Linked DNA regions of Homo sapiens: region 1 is linked to region 2. Evidence: promoter capture Hi-C in human tissues and cell types (Jung and others, 2019). All regions are on one chromosome and are shown on one strand. Each heading gives the region's core, a stretch centred on a gene start or on the middle of the fragment in contact. The rest is flanking DNA. Distances are from core to core; before and after follow the strand shown. Region 1 overlaps RILPL2 (Rab interacting lysosomal protein like 2). Region 2 holds the start of RILPL1 (Rab interacting lysosomal protein like 1).

What was found. The method cuts DNA at HindIII sites, captures the fragments that hold promoters and counts their contacts. A contact is called where the count stands out against the background at its distance.
Region 1: a contact is called between a fragment that was not itself captured here and the fragment with the promoter of RILPL1 in region 2, in 3 of the 25 tissues and cell types used here (dorsolateral prefrontal cortex, small bowel and thymus).

What each region holds. Positions count from the first base shown.
Region 1 is chr12:123,413,407-123,416,963 of GRCh38, reverse strand. It overlaps RILPL2 (Rab interacting lysosomal protein like 2), which reads left to right. Exons shown (of 4, transcript NM_145058.3): 4 at 1,043-1,925. The coding sequence ends at 1,073. Among named protein-coding and RNA genes, the nearest start is that of RILPL2, 21 kb to the left of the region's middle. The HindIII fragment of the contact is 7,685 bases long and covers 1-3,557 here.
Region 2 is chr12:123,532,462-123,536,049 of GRCh38, reverse strand. It overlaps RILPL1 (Rab interacting lysosomal protein like 1), which reads left to right and starts at 2,331. Exons shown (of 7, transcript NM_178314.5): 1 at 2,331-2,876. The coding sequence starts at 2,568. RefSeq lists silencers at 1,403-1,588, 1,608-2,297 and an enhancer at 2,513-3,330. The HindIII fragment of the contact is 25,082 bases long and covers 1-3,588 here.

The sequences.
Region 1 (3,557 bases), core at 744-3,243, 120 kb after region 2:
GAGCACCTCCACCCAGGTGTCCGAAGTGAAGGTGTTCATTTAGGACTTTCATTGGCTGTCTTGTTGCAAATCAGGCTTCCAGAAGGCATAAACTACTGGTTTCTTTCAGCGTCCTTCTACGGGAGCTTAGGACACCTAATTGGAGTTTGAGCCTAATAGAGCAAAAGTGAAATGTGTGTTCTGTGCATGAGCTAGCCTGAGGACATGTGGCTAGTGGCTAATGAGCGTGAGGCCACCCTTTCAGGGTCAGATAAACTTAATGAGCTACTAGAATCAATGAGTGAATGAATGAACGAATGAATGTGTTTTTTTGTTTTTGTTTTTGAGACGGAGTCTCAATCTGTCACCCAGGCTGGAGTGCAGTGGCACCATCTTGGCTCACTGCAAGCTCCGCCTCCCGGGTTTATGCCATTCTCCTGCCTCAGCCTCCCGAGGCAGCTGGGACTACAGGCGCCCGCCACCACACCCGGCTAATTTTTTGTATTTTTAGTAGAGACGGGGTTTCACCGTGTGAGCCAGGATGGTCTCGATCTCCTGACCTCATGATCTGCCTGCCTCCGTCTCCCAAAGTGCTGGGATTACAGGCATGAGCCACCGCACCCGGGTTTTTTGGGGTTTTTTTGCTTTTTCTTTTTCTTTTGAGATAGTGTCTTGCTCTGTCGCCCAGGCTGGAGTGCAGTGGCGCAATCTCGGCTCACTGCAACCTCTGCGTCCCGGGTTCAAGCGATTCTCCTGCCTCAGCTTCCTGAGTAGCTGGGATTACAGGTGTATGCCACCACGCCTGGTTAATTTTTTTTTTTTTTTAGAGATGGGGTCTCACTATGCTGCCCAGGCATGTCTGAGACTCCTGGGATCAAGTGATCCTCATCCTCTTGCCTCAGCTTCCCAAAATCATAGGATTACAGGCGTGAGCCACAATGCCTGGCCTGGACATATTTTTGAGTCAACAGCTGCAAGAGCTACTTAGAAATTTTACGGGGGTTGCTGTGCCCCTTGCTTTGTTCCTTCTGCTTACCCTGAACCCTCTCTCTCTCCACACCAGGTTCTTTTTTCGATCGGGGAAACAGACCTAGATCCAAGGCCACAAGTAAGGCTATGGCTCTGATTCTAGAAGACAACCTTCCAAGATGCCTGGCAAAACCACCTCCCTGTGCCACACAGACACACTAGGCCTGTGTATTTATTTCCCCTTCAAAGCAGACTGAGGAGGGAGGAGACGAGGTTCTCTTGGCATCACTTTCTCCCTGGCTGCAGAACTAGACACCCTTGAAGATTTGGCCTGGGCCAGTGAGACTGAAATCAAGAAAAACAGAAGGGATGTGCAGGGTGGGGGGGTCCACTTCCTGCTCCCATGTCAACCCCCAGGGCCTCCAGCGTGCAGACGCGTGTCCTACTCATCTGCTCCCACGGATGACCCTGGTCTTCAATGGTTAGCAGAAGGGAGAAAAGAAAGCAGGAAAATGTGCTATTGAGATTCCAGTGGTGACTTCACTGATATTTAGTGAATATTTGATTTAGCCAACATGCCTTTCTTTATGTGATTTTGTATTAAAGTAAAATGATTTTTATACTTTCTATAGCTTATCTAGAGTGGTCTCTTAGTTACGATGGTACACATGGTATATGTGTGTATATGTCATATATCTACATTTCATTGTATAATGAATCAATTGCATTCATTCAGTCTAAGCGATGCACGATTATCTGGTGTCACTATGAAGGGAAAGATTGCTGCAAACTAAAATGTTAAGAAGCTATCGATTTTAGGACTCATCCTGATTTCAGAGGTGTTAAGATGTGAACAAAATGCATTTAGGAATCAATGAAACAGAGAGCGGGTGTCTGCACTTCGCAAAGGAACTAATGAGGCTGCCGCAACCATTCCGTGAGCCTGTCTTCTTAGTAAATAACAGTGGCTTACTCAATGTGTTTCGCCTGCTCTGTGGATTATCTCATTTGTTCCTCATAACCTGGGGAGATGGGGACCGGTACCGGTGCACCAGTTTATAGATTTTTTTTTTTTTTTTTTTTGAGACGGAGTCTCTCGCTCTGTCGCACAGTCTGGAGTGCAGTGGCACGATCTCGGCTCACTACAAGCTCTGCTGCCTACGTTCACGCCATTCTCTTGCCTCAGCCTCCTGAGTAGCTGGGACTACAGGCACTTGCCACCACACTCGTCTAATTTTTTTGTATTTTTAGTAGAGACAGGGTTTCGCCGTGTTAGCCAGGATGGTCTCGATCTCCTGACCTCGTGATCCACCCGCCTCAGCCTCCCAAAGTGCTGGTGAGAGGTGACAGCGTGCTGGCAGTCCTCACAGCCCTCGCTCGCTCTCGGCGCCTCCTCTGCCTGGGCTCCCACTTTGGCGGCACTTGAGGAGCCCTTCAGCCCACCGCTGCACTGTGGGAGCCCCTTTCTGGGCTGGCCAAGGCCGGAGCCCGCTCCCTCAGCTTGCAGGGAGGTGTGGAGGGAGAGGCGCGAGCGGGAACCGGGGCTGCGCGGGGCGCTTGCGGGCCAGCTGGAGTTCCGGGTGGGCGTGGGCTTGGTGGGCCCCGCACTCGGAGCAGCTGGCGGGCCCTGCCGGCTCCGGGCAATGAGGGGCTTAGCACCCGGGCCAGCGGCTGCTGAGGGTGTGCTGGGTCCCCCAGCAGTGCCAGCCCACCGGCGCTGCGCTCGATTTCTCGCCGGGCCTTAGCTGCCTTCCCGTGGGGCAGGGCTCGGGACCTGCAGCCCGCCATGCCTGAGCCTCCCACCCCCTCCGTGGGCTCCTGTGCGGCCCAAGCCTCCTCCACGAGCCCCACCCCCTGCTCCATGGTGTCCAGTCCCATCAACGACCCAAGGGTTGAGGAGTGCAGGCACAGGGCACGGGACTGGCAGGCAGCTCCATCTGCAGCCCCGGTGCGGGATCCACTGGGTGAAGCCAGCTGGGCTCCTGAGTCTGCTGGGGACGTGGAGAACCTTTGTGTCTAGCTCAGGGATTGTAAATACACCAATCGGCACTCTGTATCTAGCTCAAGGTTTGTGAACACACCAATCAGCACCCTGTGTCTAGCTCAGGGTTTGTGAATGCACCAATCGACATTCTGTATCTAGCTACTCTGGTGGGGCCTTGGAGAACCTTTGTGTCCACACTCTGTATCTAGCTAATCTGGTGGGGACGTGGAGAACCTTTGTGTCTAGATCAGGGATTGTAAACGCACCAATCAGCGCCCTGTCAAAACAGACCACTTGGCTCTACCAATCAGCAGGATGTGGGTGGGGCCAGATAAGAGAATAAAAGCAGGCTGCCCCAGGCAGCAGTGGCAACCCGCTCGGGTTCCTTTCCGCATTGTGGAAGCTTTGTTCTTTTGTTCTTTGCAATAAATCTTACTACTGCTTACTCTTTGGGTCCACACTGCTTTTATGAGCTGTAATACTCACCCCGAAGGTCTGCAGCTTCACTCCTGAAGCTAGGGAGACCAGGAGCCCACCAGGAGGAACGAGCAACTCCAGACGCGCCGCCTTAAGAGCTGTAACACTCACCACGAAGGTCTGCAGCTTCACTCCTGAGCCAGCGAGA
Region 2 (3,588 bases), core at 1,082-3,581:
CTGCAACCTCTGCCTCCCGGGTTCAAGTGATCCTCCTGCCTCAGCCTCCTGAGTAGCTGGGATTACAGGCGCCTGCCACCACGCCTGGCTAATTTTTTTTTTTTTTTGTATTTTTAGTAGAGATGAGGTTTCACCATGTTGGCCAGGCTGATCTTGAACTCCTGACCTCAACTGATCTGCCCCCCTTGGCCTCCCAAAGTGCTGGGATTACAGGCATAAGTCACTGCAACCAGACTTTTTTTTAAATAGAGACGGGGTTTTGCCATGCTGCCCAGGCTGGTCTCGAAATCTTGGGCTCAAGTGATCCTCCAGCCCTGGCCTCCCAAAGTGCTAGGATTACAAGCATGAGCCACTGTGGCCAGGAGTATTTATTTTTATTTTTTATTTTTCTGAGACAGAGTTTCGCTCTGTCGCCCAGTTTGGAGCATAGTGGTGTGATCTCAACTCACTGCAACCTCTGCCTCCCAGGCTCAAGGGATCTTCCCACCTCAGCCTCCCAAATACCTGGGACTACAGGCTCTCACCACCACGTCTGGCTAATTTTTTTATTTTACTTTTTTTTTTTTCTTTTTTTTTTTTGAGACGGAGTTTCGCTCTTGTTGCCCAAGCTGGAGTGCAGTGGCACGATCTTGGCTCACTGCAACCTCTGCCTCCCAGGCTCAAATGATTCTCGCGCCTCAGCCTCTTGAGTAGCTGGGATTACAGGCACATGCCACCATGTCTGGCTAATTTTTGTATTTTTAGTAGAGGCGTGGTTTCACCATGTTGGCCAGGCTGGTCTCGAACTCCTGAGCTCTAGAAATTTTCCCACCTCGGCCTCCCAAAGTGCTGGGATTACAGGCGTGAGCCACCCCGCCTGGCCTTAATTTTTTTTTTTTTACTATTTATTTATTTATTTATTGTATTATATTATTATTTTGAGATGGAGTCTTGCTCTGTCACCCAGCCTGCAGTGCAGTGGCGCGATTTCGGCTTGCTGCAACCTCCGCCTCCCGGGTTTAAGCAACTCTCTGCCTCAGCCTCCTGAGTAGCTGGGATTACAGGCATGCGCCACCATGCCCGGCTAATTTTTGTATTTTTAGTAGAGACGGGGTTTCACCACCTTGGCTAGGCTGGTCTTGAACTCCTGACCTCGTCCACCTCAGTCTCCCAAAGTGCTGGGATTACAGGCGTGAGCCACCGCGCCCGGCCAACTTTTAGATTTTTAATCAATACGTGCCACGTTGGGGTGCGCTTTATGGCTACAAGGGCATTAAGATTTCTTCCCTCAAGGAGCCAAGATCTGACGGTGGAAACCTACCTGCAACCACACGGTGAAAACTCAGGATGCTAAGAGCAATCCTGATGGGGCAAGCAGGGGACTGTGAGTTTGCAAGGGGGTCCTTAACTCCTGCGTGGGGGGCGGGGAGGGTGGATGGGGTTCTGGGTTCAGGAAACGTTCTCCCGGGAGTGGGAGGGGGTCTGATGGACAAGTGGATTTGGCCAGCCCAAATGGACAGGGGGCCTTGGGACAAGAGAACTCGTGGTGCTGGAATGCCAAGCGGGCTTCGCTCTACTGTGAAGTGGCGTTCATGTCACAAGGAGCCAGTGATGGATGTGGCTCGGGGAGGCGCGCCCTGGGGCTCCGGGGATCCAGCATTCCTCGACACGTCGGCCCCTCTCCGGGCGCCTCTGCAAGTCCGCCTGGTGGCCGGGTCTGCGCGGAGTGTCTGCGGGCCGGGGGGGGTCCCCGTTCTCTTCCTGGGATGAGCCCCAGCCCGGGGACCTCCTCGTGACCCCTCCATCCCTCTCCAAGGCCGGGGCCGCTACCCGGAGCAGCGAATCGTCCCGCGAGACCAGCGCCCCCGGCCCCCTCTCCCGGGGCGGCCTGGACCCCTCCCGGCGGCCGGGTGGTGGGAGGAGTCAGCGCCGGGCGGGGGAGGGGCGGCCGGGGCACGGGTGAGGGGCGCCGCGGGTCCGGCGGCTGGAGAGGGGGGCCCGGAGTGCAGGCCGCGGAGTCGGCGCTTGGGGGGGTACCCCGGGGCGCCCCCGGGCGGCGGAAAGCGGGCGCGCCCCTGGCCAGGCCGGGATTGGGGCGGGGCGCGCGGCCTCCCTGTGGGGAAGCGATCACCCGGCCTCGCAGCCGCCGCCGCCAAAGTTTCCCGGAGGAGCCGCGGGCCGCCCTTCCTCTCCGGCCCCGCGCTCTGCCGCCCCTCAGGCCCGCACCGCCCCGAGGCGCCCGGCCCGGCTCCATTGAGCGCAACTCGGATCCCAACTTGGGAGGCGCCGCGGGCCTGCGCACGCGCGCGCCCTCCCCGCTGCCGCCGCCGCCGCCGCCGCCGCCGCCGCCCACTCGGGAGCAGCTCCGGGCCGAGCCGGGCGCCCAGACCCCGGGCCCGCACACCCCGCGCCGCCGCCCGTGCCCGCGCCCGCGCCCGCCGCCCGCTGCCCGCTGCGCCCTCGCCCCAGCGCCCGCTGAGCGCGCCCGCCCGCGGCCCAGGCTGGGCCCGGCCGGCCCGGCCCTCGACAGCGGCAAGTTTGGGAGTTGCACGAGTTTGCGGGGCGGGGGACAGGCCAGGAGGGTGGCCATGGAGGAGGAGCGGGGGTCGGCGCTGGCGGCCGAGTCGGCGCTGGAGAAGAACGTGGCCGAGCTGACCGTCATGGACGTGTACGACATCGCGTCGCTTGTGGGCCACGAGTTCGAGCGGGTCATTGACCAGCACGGCTGCGAGGCCATCGCGCGCCTCATGCCCAAGGTCGTGCGCGTCCTGGAGATCCTGGAGGTGCTGGTCAGCCGCCACCACGTCGCGCCCGAGCTGGACGAGCTGCGCCTGGAGCTGGACCGCCTGCGCCTGGAGAGGATGGACCGCATCGAGAAGGAGCGCAAGCACCAGAAGGTGGGCGGCGGCCTCGGTCTGTCCGTCCGGGCAGTGGGACCGCGGGGACCCAAGGGCTCTTCCGCATTGGGCAGCTGTGGGTGCGCACGTGTGTGTGTTCAGGGACCGGACCAGAGGAGACCCGACGTGGGGAGGGAGGGAGGCCCTGGCCTTCTTTTGCCCGACCAGGGGTGGCTGGCAGATACCACCCGAGAGATTAAGAGCTGTTCTCTGGAGTTCCAATCCCACCTTTACCGTTTAATAGCTGTGTGACTTTAGGTAAGTTACTTAACCTCTCTGTGCTTTATTTCCTCACCTGTCAAATGGTAATCATAATAGGACCCACCTTAGAAGAATTAAATGGGACCATATAAGCTAAGTGCTTAGACATATTATTCTCTTCCAGACATGAAATAAGCCTCTTGGCCTCCCGAGTTACCAAGAAGATGTGACATCAGGCCCAGGACCCTTTCTTCATCCCCCCCCCCCCCAGTCTCCCCAGAGCAAAGGGAATGTGACCTCCAGCCACTGAGCTTCGTGACCCCTAGTCTTCGGGTTCATATTTGCAACTTTCTTCCCGGGACTCCCCTAGCTTATGAACCTGTGGTAGCCCGTGTTCTCTCCTCTGATTTTATCCTTAATCCTCACAGGACTCTATAGAGACTATCTTCATTTTACAGATAAAGAAACCGAGGGTCACAGTGGGAGGAGCAATTTGTCCCAAATTAGTGGT